3 separate regions of the Homo sapiens genome follow, and regions 1 and 2 are each linked to region 3. The links are contacts of gene promoters, found by promoter capture Hi-C in blood cells and fetal thymus (Javierre and others, 2016). All regions are on one chromosome and are shown on one strand. Each heading gives the region's core, a stretch centred on a gene start or on the middle of the fragment in contact. The rest is flanking DNA. Distances are from core to core; before and after follow the strand shown.

What was found. The method cuts DNA at HindIII sites, captures the fragments that hold promoters and counts their contacts. A CHiCAGO score of 5 or more calls a contact.
Region 1: a fragment that was not itself captured here is called in contact with the fragment with the promoter of DLG2 in region 3 in 1 of 17 cell types (neutrophils); the score reaches 5.7 in neutrophils.
Region 2: the fragment with the promoter of SLC36A4 here is called in contact with the fragment with the promoter of DLG2 in region 3 in 1 of 17 cell types (naive CD8 T cells); the score reaches 7.3 in naive CD8 T cells.

The regions. Positions count from the first base shown.
Region 1 is chr11:93,727,393-93,730,902 of GRCh38, forward strand. It overlaps CEP295 (centrosomal protein 295), which reads left to right. Exons shown (of 30, transcript NM_033395.2): 24 at 1-245; 25 at 1,289-1,429; 26 at 2,042-2,138; 27 at 2,222-2,389; 28 at 2,478-2,577; 29 at 2,657-2,756; 30 at 2,839-2,966. The coding sequence ends at 2,877. It overlaps SNORA25 (small nucleolar RNA, H/ACA box 25), which reads right to left and starts at 3,254; the gene lies at 3,121-3,254. It also overlaps a transcript of TAF1D not described here. The HindIII fragment of the contact is 1,275 bases long and covers 1,439-2,713 here.
Region 2 is chr11:93,195,838-93,199,423 of GRCh38, forward strand. It overlaps SLC36A4 (solute carrier family 36 member 4), which reads right to left and starts at 2,154. Exons shown (of 11, transcript NM_152313.4): 1 at 1,941-2,154. The coding sequence starts at 1,995. RefSeq lists a silencer at 1,916-2,295. The HindIII fragment of the contact is 1,801 bases long and covers 971-2,771 here.
Region 3 is chr11:85,624,846-85,628,593 of GRCh38, forward strand. It overlaps DLG2 (discs large MAGUK scaffold protein 2), which reads right to left and starts at 2,499. Exons shown (of 28, transcript NM_001142699.3): 1 at 2,373-2,499; 2 at 1,742-1,908. TMEM126B (transmembrane protein 126B) reads left to right here and starts at 3,748. Exons shown (of 5, transcript NM_018480.7): 1 at 3,748. RefSeq lists a silencer at 406-606 and enhancers at 2,545-3,053, 2,926-3,085, 3,166-3,215, 3,356-3,545. The HindIII fragment of the contact is 9,013 bases long and covers 1-3,748 here.

The DNA.
Region 1 (3,510 bases), core at 826-3,325, 8.1 Mb after region 3:
CCTGTAGGGTTTTAGACATAAATCCACAGGTAGAGGAAACTGACTCTCGATTATGTGTAAGAACAGTGGAGATGGGAACTTCAATTCAGGCACCATATTCCTTAACTACTCAAAATGAAAAATATTTTGAGAATTCAGCTGAAACAGACATTCCAAAAATCACCAAAAAACTATCTCAACTAGGAGAATCAGAGCTTTTTGCAAGTTCTGGATCATTTTCATTACAGAGCTCTATACCAGTCTGGGTAAGTGAAATCAGTGTTGTATAAATAACATTTAAATTCCTTTTTGGGAAAAAACTTTTTTCTTCTAAAATTAGAGATGAAGTTCCCACTATGCTACCCAGGCTGAACTCAAACTCCTAGGATCAAGGGATCCTCCTGCCTCAACTTCCGAAGTAGTTTGGACACACCACAATGCCTGGCAGGAAAAACCTGAAACAAAATACAAGCAAAACTGCTTGTTAATATTGCTATCCAGCTTGTGATCACTAGAAATATCCAGCATAATGCAGAAACTTAAAAATTTGAAAACTGTCTTCTGAGAGTATTTTACAAAAGATCCTTTTTCTCCCAATTCAGATATCCTTTCTCCAACTTCCCTGAAAAATGGTGGTTCTGCCTGTGCTTCAGCACTTTCAGTGTTGAGCCTCATTCCAGTGCAATGAATTCATCCATTATTGGAATAAGTATTGGAAACCTGCTCCTCATATTAAGCAACTTATAATCTGCTTGCTTTCAACACCAGTCAACTGGTGACTGGTTTTCATCTAGCAGTATGTGCAGTTTATCCTTCCACAAATAAACATAACAGATTGAAAATAAGAATTACAACTAAACCACGTTTTATGTGGCTGCTTTTGTTCTTGTTGTGTTTAGATACTTTTGAAACATTATCTGTTAGCAGTCAGTGGCCCACATTTGGTAGCAGCCCAGTCGACCCCTGCTCCCTTTAAAGGATACAATTCGGCACAGCCAACCTGCATTTATATTTTTTGCCCAACACTACAAGCATTTAGGTTTGTAATCATTGTGGTAGATACCTTTCAGTCCATTGTCACACTATTTCATCCCCTCCCCAAAGTAGGCTCCAGTATTTCTACAACTGAATGCTGGAGTTATGGAAGCCTAAGGAAATCTGATCTGTTGGTCTTTGCCAATCATTGCTTTTCTTCCTCCATTTTCACATTTATATACACTTGCAAAAAATGTGCATTATATACAAAACGATTAGTTTAAGTCTTTTAAGGCTATTTTGACATGGTTTTCCTTTTAATTGTGGTTCACAGGAAACAGAAACTGGCCATGGTATAATGGAAGAACCAGAACTTACTTTAATAAGCACCACTGATACCAGTATTGCTGAAATGGATTTTGCAAATTTAACCCTAGAAGAGAAGAGCGAGAATGAAGCAAAATGCTTCTTTCAGGTAAATTTAAGCTTTCCTTCTATTTTATTCTATTACAAGCAAACCAGTTGATTTGTCTCTTACAACTTATCAGAAGGTACTCATTGGAGGGAATTATGCTATGCATTTAACTAAGCCGACACCCCCACCAGCTCTCAATTTGTCTTAAACCTTCACTATTCTGTCAACCATTGTGCATTTTCTTTTAATCCCCACTCCAATTTATGCCTGTCTCCAAGACTGGCAGAACTAATCTTATACACCTAGTGTTATAGTGCCAAGTTGGAAGTTTTACCTAAACTTATTCCCAGATATTGAAAAATGACTTCAGAACAACTGGTAATTTTACTAGGGGAGTAGGGAGGCAATAAGAATAAAGCTATCTAAACAGAGGCCTAGAGGTGTGAGGGCAGTGGAGCCTAAGCCCAGTTCAAGACCAGCCTGGGCAACAAGGCAAAACCCAATCCCTACAAAAAATACAAAAATCAGGCATGGTGGCGGGTCTCTGTAGACCCAGCTAAGATTGAGGCTGCAGTGAGGTGTGATCATGCCGCTGCACTCTAATCTGACAGCAGAGCAAGACCCGCTTAAAGCGTTTAAAAAGAGTAAAACATGCAACTTTCTTGCCATTAGGTGAGTGAGTTTCTGCCTCTTGTATCAGCAACAGAAGCCTCAGATTATCCAGCTGTATCAGAACTTTCCATAGAAAAACCAAGGACAGCATCTACAGGTAAGCCTTGGACGGCCTCCACACTTCTAATGGAAAGTAGATACTTTGCCTATTTCTGTCATAAATTTCTTTTCCCCCAGCAGAAACCCCTCGCAGGCTTACACCTGTACCAGGGAGCTTACAAGAAGCATTTATAAAGAGGAAAAAATCATTTATGGAGAGATCCCACCAGAGGCAGAAAGAAATAAGGAATAAAATTCATGTCTCTGAAAATTCTCAAATCAAAACAGTTAAAGAGAAACCATCTATAAGTATGTTGAATTTTTAAAATCTTCAACCAACTCCCTGAAATGTTTAAAGCCTTGTGTTTACAACTTGATTTCACTTTTCTTTCCTCAGGTTCATCTGTGAGTCGTCTAAAGGGCGTGAATAAAGTCAGAGCATCTTTTCCTGAAGACAGAAAGACTACACAGGCTCTAAGGCACCAAAGGGGTCTAAGGTAGGGTTAATTTTTTTTTTTTTTTTAGTGATTCACTTTTTGCAGTGTTTGTCTCTAATTCTATATAAATTCTTTACAGGTTATACAATCAACTAGCTGAAGTGAAACAACAAAAGGAAGAAAAAACAAAACAAGAAGCTTATGCCCAAAACAGAGCAAGGGCAAAAGAATTCCATAAGGTGAGTATAACTGAGGGAGAAGGACTTAATTTTTCAAGCATGAAGTACACAACTGAAACTCAAATTTTTATTCCTTCCACAGAAAACACTAGAGAAACTTCGAGCCAAAAATACATGCTGACTTTCTAGAAATAGTGTAAAGGTTTTTTAATTGTGTATATGTAGCATTAGACAAAATTATTTAAAGTCAATAAATTGTTATTCGAGGAATTCCATGTTGTGATTTCTTCCACTGTCCATCAAGGTCACTTTAGATCCTCTAAAGAGCTGGAGTCAAAAGATTTATCTTCAAGTTTGCCCTGAAGAAGAGAAATTTTGATTAACCTTTAAAACTCTCACATGGCAACAATCCTGGATTATTACGTTTTATATCTCCTCAGGAAAACATAGCACCAAACATTAGGAGTGCTATGGCTTCCTATAGAGAACTTCCATCTTTGGTCACAGCGTTAAGAGCTCTGGGTTTCACAGCCTCATAAGCCCTCTTTGAAATGACCCATACAAATGTCTTTTCTAATGCATACATACCTTTTTAATGAAACTGATCCAGTTGTCCTGTCAGCCCTACATAACAATAGTATAAAAGTAAATTTTACATTTCCAGAGATGAGTGTACAGTGAGTGAACATGAATGAGTCCCTAGAACGAGCCTGAGTTAACTCTACTACAAACTGCTTGGTTATTAGCAACCCACAAGGGTTACAATATAAAGGCAAAGCAAATTTGCATGATTCAAGAGATCTAGGAGAATTTT
Region 2 (3,586 bases), core at 904-3,403, 7.6 Mb after region 3:
TCAATAAGGCCCATCCCAACCATTTTATAAAATACTGTAAACTGCCTAGCCCCCACCCTCATTCCTGATTTCCCTTACCCTGCTCTTGTTTTCCATAGCACTTTTCACCTAACATACTATATAATTAACTGGTTATTGTCTTTACTGCTTACTCTCTGCTTCCCATTACTAAATACAAGCTCCATTAAGAACAGGAATTTTTATCTGTTTTGCTCACGATGTATCTCAAGTGCCTAGGGGAAGCTCAATGAATATGTGTTGAATTAATGAAAATATAAAACTTAAAAAAACTGAAATAATTTGAAACTTTTTTTCAGTTAAAGAAAATGTACATGCTGAACATCTTTCCACATCACTTTTAATGGTAGGCAATGTAAAACTATACCACAATTTAACCAATTTCCTTTCATTGTACTTTAGTTAACAGCTTTTCTCTATATACTATAATGAAAACCTCTTGATATAAGTATGGGTTACATTACTTATTTCCTCGGGAAATATTCTGAAGGAGAATTGCTGGGTCAAACGATAAGCACTTTTTTTTTTTGAGACAGAGTCTCGCTCTGTTGCCCAGGCTGGAGTGCAGTGGCACGATCTCGGCTCACGGCAAGCTCCGCCTCCCGGGTTCACGCCATTCTCCTGCCTCAGCCACCCGAGTAGCTGGGACTACAGGCGCCCGCCACCACGCCCGGCTAATTTTTTGTGTTTTTAGTAGAGACGGGGTTTCACCGTGTTAGCCAGGATGGTCTCCATCTCCTGACCTTGTGATGATCCGGCCGCCTCAGCCTCCCAAAGTGCTGGGATTACAGGCGTGAGCCACCGCGCCAGGCCGATATGTACATTTTTAAGGCTAAATATATTATCCCTTTCCTGCCAGCAATGCATGAGAATACCCATTTCTCCATATCCTCACTAAGACAGGTTATTAATGAATGAAACCTGAGTTCACATTTGGGTTCTGCCATTAATAAGCTTAAAATTACTGTATCTATAAAATGGAAATCATGATAGCACCTATCTCAGTTGCTGTGAGGATTAAAGACAATGCATAGGTAAAGCACTTAGCACAGTGTTTGCACACAGTAAGCACGCAATAAAATGTTAAGTTTATTGTTTCTACCATTATTACGGCCTGAAAACAATTCCATTGCAAAGTGCCCTGCAGGCTATTAGAGGAATAACAACAACCTATCAGTTACTTATAATACGGTATTTTTTAAAGTTCAACGGTTTTCTTGAAGATTCCATTTAGATTTAATTTTTTAATTACATTTAATCAGCATCGAATGAAAAATACTCCCAAGTACAGTACGTATAACTGGGAGAGCGATCATTTTACCACCCTGATCCTTACTTTTTTATTTTGGACAGCGGGAAACCGTAAACAAACACGCCCTGTCGCCAAGAAACAAGATGGGAGGAAAGCAGCAAAAAACAAACAAACTTTGCCAAGTGAGCAAGCTACAGGTATCTCCTGTTCATTCTGGTCAGCACGACCTGTTCGAAACTCTGGGATAACAAGGAGTAAAATGAGGATTCATCTGGAGATTCCGAATGGGGCTGCAGCATTTGAAAAGCAGAACAATGATAACTTCCTTAAAGCATCATTGGGAAAAAAACCGTGAGTCACGGCGCAGGCTCTTGCGTCTTTGACGTGTACCCACAGGGCCCCGCCCCACTCAACACACACACTCACCCACACGCGCGCGCGCAAACACACACACACATATTTTAACGCCCTATTCAGGCCTGGGCTTCGTCTGACCAAGTTCTCGGGGTCAGATAACCGGTTCCTTTGCGGATGCTGACCACGGGGTCAGTTAGCAATCGGGCCTCAACTCAGGCCAAGCGCGGGGCCCCTGGAGGTGTGGGCGCACCCGACTCCCGCACAGACCCCCGCCCACGTCAGCCCCGGCTCCCTGCCCACGCACAACACCGACCTAGCTCCTCGCGCCTCGCCGCCCCGGCAGCCGCCGGCGTCGCCGCCGCTTCCATCTCTCGCGGGTCTCCAGGACGCCGCCGCCCGAGTGCTCACTCTCCCGCCGCTGCGTGGCCGGCGTCAGGCCCAGGCCTACCTCCCCTGCCCGGAGGGACCCGCGCCTGGTGCCCGCCTCCCTGCCCCGGCGCTCCCCAACCGCGCGGCGAGGAGCATGCGCAGTGGGACAGCCCGGCTCGGCGGGCACCGCCGGCGAGGGGCGGGAGGGGCCGAAGACCCGAGGACTGCTGCGAGGCCGGGTTGGGTAACCCGAGAGGAGGGTTGGGTAACCTGAGATCAGCGAGGGTGGGACCTTAGAGCTAGCCGAGACCCGGGCCCATAGCTCCCTGGGGGTTTTAAAGATGACGGCGAACTTAAATTTGGGGCGCCTGTCCGTATGCAAGGCGTTAGCGTTCTGTAAGTCACCTTGGAGAATGCGAAGAAGGACGGGATTTGTCCCCTACCCATGCTGAGGTTCTGACTACTCTGGTTATTCGTCTCCCTGTTTCTATAGTTAGAGTTACAGGAGACACTTAAATAGAATTTAATTAAGTCATATACAATTTCACTTTCAGGATATTTCAATGTCCTTCCAGATATTTGACGTTGACCGTGGTGCTGAAAGAAAATTAAGGTAAAGACTAAGTGTACTGATGTAGTTTCAAGTACTCCTAAGCACCATACATACATTATCTTTAATTCTGACTACAATTTGTGAGATAATTCTAATATTTACATTAACGCTAAAGATGAAGGGATTAAGGCACGGAGGTAAGTAACGTGTCTGGGGACAGGAAGCTTGTACATGGCAGAAGTAGAATCCTTCTGCCTTCAGAGCTGGAGCTCTCGAAAAATATGCAAAGCTGGCCTCCCAGATGGGTACCAATGAATATTCGATGAATCAATGGATGAAGCAAGCTTTTGGTTTAAAAGGAAAATATTTATTTTAATTTTAAAATCGCTTTCTTTTTTTTTTCACTTCATAGTTCTTGGAAGTCAGTACACCAGACAATCCTTTTTATTTGTGTCCGTTTCATTCAGTGGGGTTGCTTTAGGAAAGGGTTTTTTTGGGGGGGAGTGGGTCTGATTAACAGTCACTGATGTAACTATATGGCAATGGTGTTAAATATTTAAAATTCTGAGATTAAAAAGGTACGCAGTTACATACTATCTACATCTTTCCTCCTGTTGCATCCTCTGTAGGCTTTCACTAGATAACTAGTGATAATGACAGTTTGCCAACCCCCTTTCTTTTCCTTTAAGTGAACCCAATTTGTTCACATACATACACATGCAAATCCCAAAAGAAGGTTTTATTTGAAGTGTTCCTGACAAATAAAGGGGTAAAGGAGATTTTTTTTAAAAAAGAAGAAGAAGAAGAAATCTATTCTGGAACATAGCTAGAGCAATGTTCCCTAACCTGTGTTGGGGTGGATCACCTGGTTAAAGATCAGCAGGAGAGAAGATAGGCATCAGACAGAAATTATAGGACCAAGGTAATTTTCCATAAACCACTCATTATAATGAGAACATGTGGGACAGCATCTTAAAAGAACATTATCCTTTGAGAGTTAAAAGGGATCAAAAGTCATTGTCCCCTAATCTCAGCTT
Region 3 (3,748 bases), core at 1,249-3,748:
ATTATTGAAGAAGGAAAGAAGAAAGGGAAGGAGGGAGGCAAAGGAAGAGAGGAAGAAGGAAAGAAAGGAAATTCTTCTAAAGTATTATAATTTCACCAATGTATCAGCAATTTCTGTAACAGTTCTTTAAAGGGAAGAACTTTTAAGAAACTCGGTTTATGGGGTTTAGAAACATTAAGTTCTAAACTTTCTAACTAAACCTGCTTAGTTAAGTTATACCTAGAATATCAATTGACCTTCCTCCTCTTCCTTCCCACATACCTTTTTATCTCTTTCTCTGTCTCTCCTCCTTCCCATTCTCTCTTCCTTTCACTCTTTTCCTCTCTGTCTCTCTCTCTCTCACACACACACGTAATGTGTTTAATTCCATTATTAGTTCAAAATAAGGTAATCCAAAAGAAACTCTCTAGAGAAATGGTAGAAAGAATAAAAACACACATCAACTTAAATATGTCAAAGAGCCATATCATTTATTGGCTACATTCCCAAAACCATTCTTGTTCTAGATAAACCAATTGTGTCTGGTCTGGACAAGTGTGGCTCCAAAATCTCAGGCAGTTTACTTCTGTCAGTGGTATTATTAGAAACAGCAGGGGGAGGAAACAATCCCAATCTTAAATCCCAGTGTGCAAATATCACAGTTCTAGGTGTTCCAAAAGTTTTATATATCATTGTCCATCTCTACAAATATCAGCTTGGATAAGGCATCTCAGTGATTATAAGTTTCCTCAACATCCCTAACAAATCCACAGGTAGAAGAATTAAACACCATGCAGAGATAAGTTCCACTTTAACCTGCAATTCACCCAGAGCTTTAGTTTCAGATTGTAGCAACTCACATAACTGGACAACATTTGGATCTATATTAGTCCAGTATAGCAGAGTTCAAGGCTGTTCATATAAGTTTTGATTCAAAACTCTTGAGAAACTCTTTACAGTTGATCTCACCTTCCATATAATGTCAAAACAAAACAAAACAAAAACAGTCCCAAACTAGGATCCTTTGGAACAAAGTTAACCTGGGGTGCATCTAAGCTAAACTGAATCCCCAAGTTCAGAATATAATCAACTATGCTTCAGGAATTCACTAGATCTTGATCAATTCCAATAATAAAAGTTGTTGAGGAGGGAGGAAAAAAACAGGTGTTTGCCCCATTTGGGGAACTTGACAATCATGTTATTGGATAATGCATATATCTGGAAAAGCACAATAGTCACGAAAGTTGTGCTTTATCACAAAAGTGAAGATTTACACTAGAATAAATCCAAATAATAAGTCTATTTTTTAACCAAAAGATAAATTATAAAGCTGTAATTTTGTTCAGTGCAAATGAAATTACTTTGCTACCTTTCACAATTCTGTAATTAGTTTGATAAATATTAAACCCATGAGGAAGAGCTCCACTGCACAAGTTTCTTTTTTAAAGACTGCTTAAAAGTAACCTTCAACAAGCTAAGAAAACAAGCTAAAGGAGACTCCAAATCTGCGGTACTGAATCTATTCTTATTACCAACGGTGATATAAACAACCTGATTTATGAAATCATAAATATCTATCAATAAATACTATAGTCTTGCTTCCTTTTACTTTAGTAAAATAATATTACTGAATTATGTACCACTGAAACTATATTACAATAAATATTTCCCCCAAACTGAAGCAAAACTTTACTCTCAAATGGAATATAATTTAAATTACAAGTACCAGAACCAACAAAAGGGAGAAATATTATATAGCAACCTTATGGCCCACCTGTCTTCTTGACTGGCATTCTTGGGTCTTTCCACTGCCACAGGAGTCAATATCTCTTTTCAGGTCTCAGTTTGATCCAGCTGGATTGAGGCCAAGAGCCAGGTAACTGTTGCAAACCACTTCAGTGTTCAGTTTTGAAATCCAGGCTGAGTCTTCTATGTCAGACAAAGAAAATAATGATGTATTTTTTCCACAACTAAACTTTTTACACCGCCCACAGAGTTTACAGCAACGTAATTTTTTAGTTTTTCAAGTTTTTCAATTTTCAGAAAATATTTAGACTGTTTTTACAAACTGGGAAAATTATTGTAAACATGAAGAACGTTACTGAAATTCCTCTTCAGGCAGCAACATTTTTGGAAGTTCAATGACTAACTCAATTAAGGCACAAACCAAATTTAGACAGGTCTCATTACTTTATACATGGTCAAATTCAAAGATGATGATAAAGATACTCAAATCTGTAGAGAAAAATGTAACCCCACCTCCCCAAAAATACTTTTAAAAATCTCTTTGACTCCAGTCTCTAAAAAGATAGGTGAGTTTGAACAGTTTTCTGTGGCAGAACACACATTGAAAGGCCCCCTTATATTTACTGATCAGAAGTTCCGGATCTCACCCCCTCAGTAACTCAGAATCCAGCTTGCTGTCCCTTTCATTTTTTTCTTCTGTGCTCTCCAAGCCCCCAGGCTTGATCCTTAATGCCCCTCTGATTCTGATCCTCCCATGTATTAACCGAGAGGATTGAAAAAAAAGGAAAGCAATCCCTTGGCATGGAGACATTAAAGTGACAGTGCTACTCAATGGGCACTTGATGCAGGATGAGTTGGCGAAGCAGATTTCTTCACACTGGAGTCATTCACATCATGCCATCTCTTCGCATTCAAGCAGCTCCCTATCCGGCGAGGAAAAACACTGAGACTTCGAGAGAAGCCAAACCTTCCCCCAAAGGTGTTTTCAGAGACGCCGTAGTAGTATTAGACATGTAAGCATAAGCTATGTAAACGGTCCGCGATTTCCTAAATGAGAAAGTGCAGCTGCTTGGCTTTCACATCCACCTTTTCTCTCAATCTCTCTTCAAACTACCCACCTTCCTTTTGCAGAAAAGACAAGACATTTCTTTGCCACCGCTGGCCACCCCTGCCCAAGCCCCGTTCTTTTAGGGAAGAGCACTGAAATGTCCTGCACCCTCCACGCGATGAAGTGTTTCCTCAGGCAGGAGCAACAGCAGCACTAGAAATTATATAACTCTCGAATTTGGCTTCTGTAAGACATGGAGACTGGAGGGTCGGGGGTTGCCGGTCTGGGAGATACTGCTGGGCATTTAACGTGCACAAAACAGCGCCAGGCCTTGCAGTGCCCCCCACCCCGAGACACGGCTGACAAGTGGGTCTTCTCGCGGGGGTAGTGGGCAAATTTCTCTCCGGTCTCTTTCCAAGCGGGGCTAAAGGATGCAAATTGAGGGGACTACAGACTGGGGAGAGGAGTCAGACGGCTGAGAGGAGAGGAGGCTAGTCGGGGCTGCTCTGACGGCGCTGGGCGGCTGGTCCGGGGTTTGGAGGAGGAGGTGCCCGAGAAACAGAGCTTTAACACCACACAGGCCAGGGCAAAGGGGCGAGTTCCCTCAAGGACTGAAAGGGGCAGGCAGCTAGTTCCCAGCTGCCCTGAGGAGAGGCAGGAGCGCAGTAACATTACAACATTCGGGCCGCCCCATCTTTCCCGCAGGACGCGAAGAGATCAGGGAGCTAAGCTGATAAATAGTCAGGGAAGGAAATACTCGGCTGGCGAGGGGGGCAGGCCCACAGGCGCCTGGACCTCCTCTAAGCGAATAAGTGGCCGTAATTTCTAGACGCCGCGCCCAATCACAGTCAGGATGGAGGGCGCGGCTTTTGACTGAGTGGGGGCGGGCCCGGGCTGCAATCGAGAGGCGTTGAGCCGTAAATCAGCACCACTTCCCGCCCAGGGCGTTCTGGGTCCCCGCCCACCGGCAAGTCA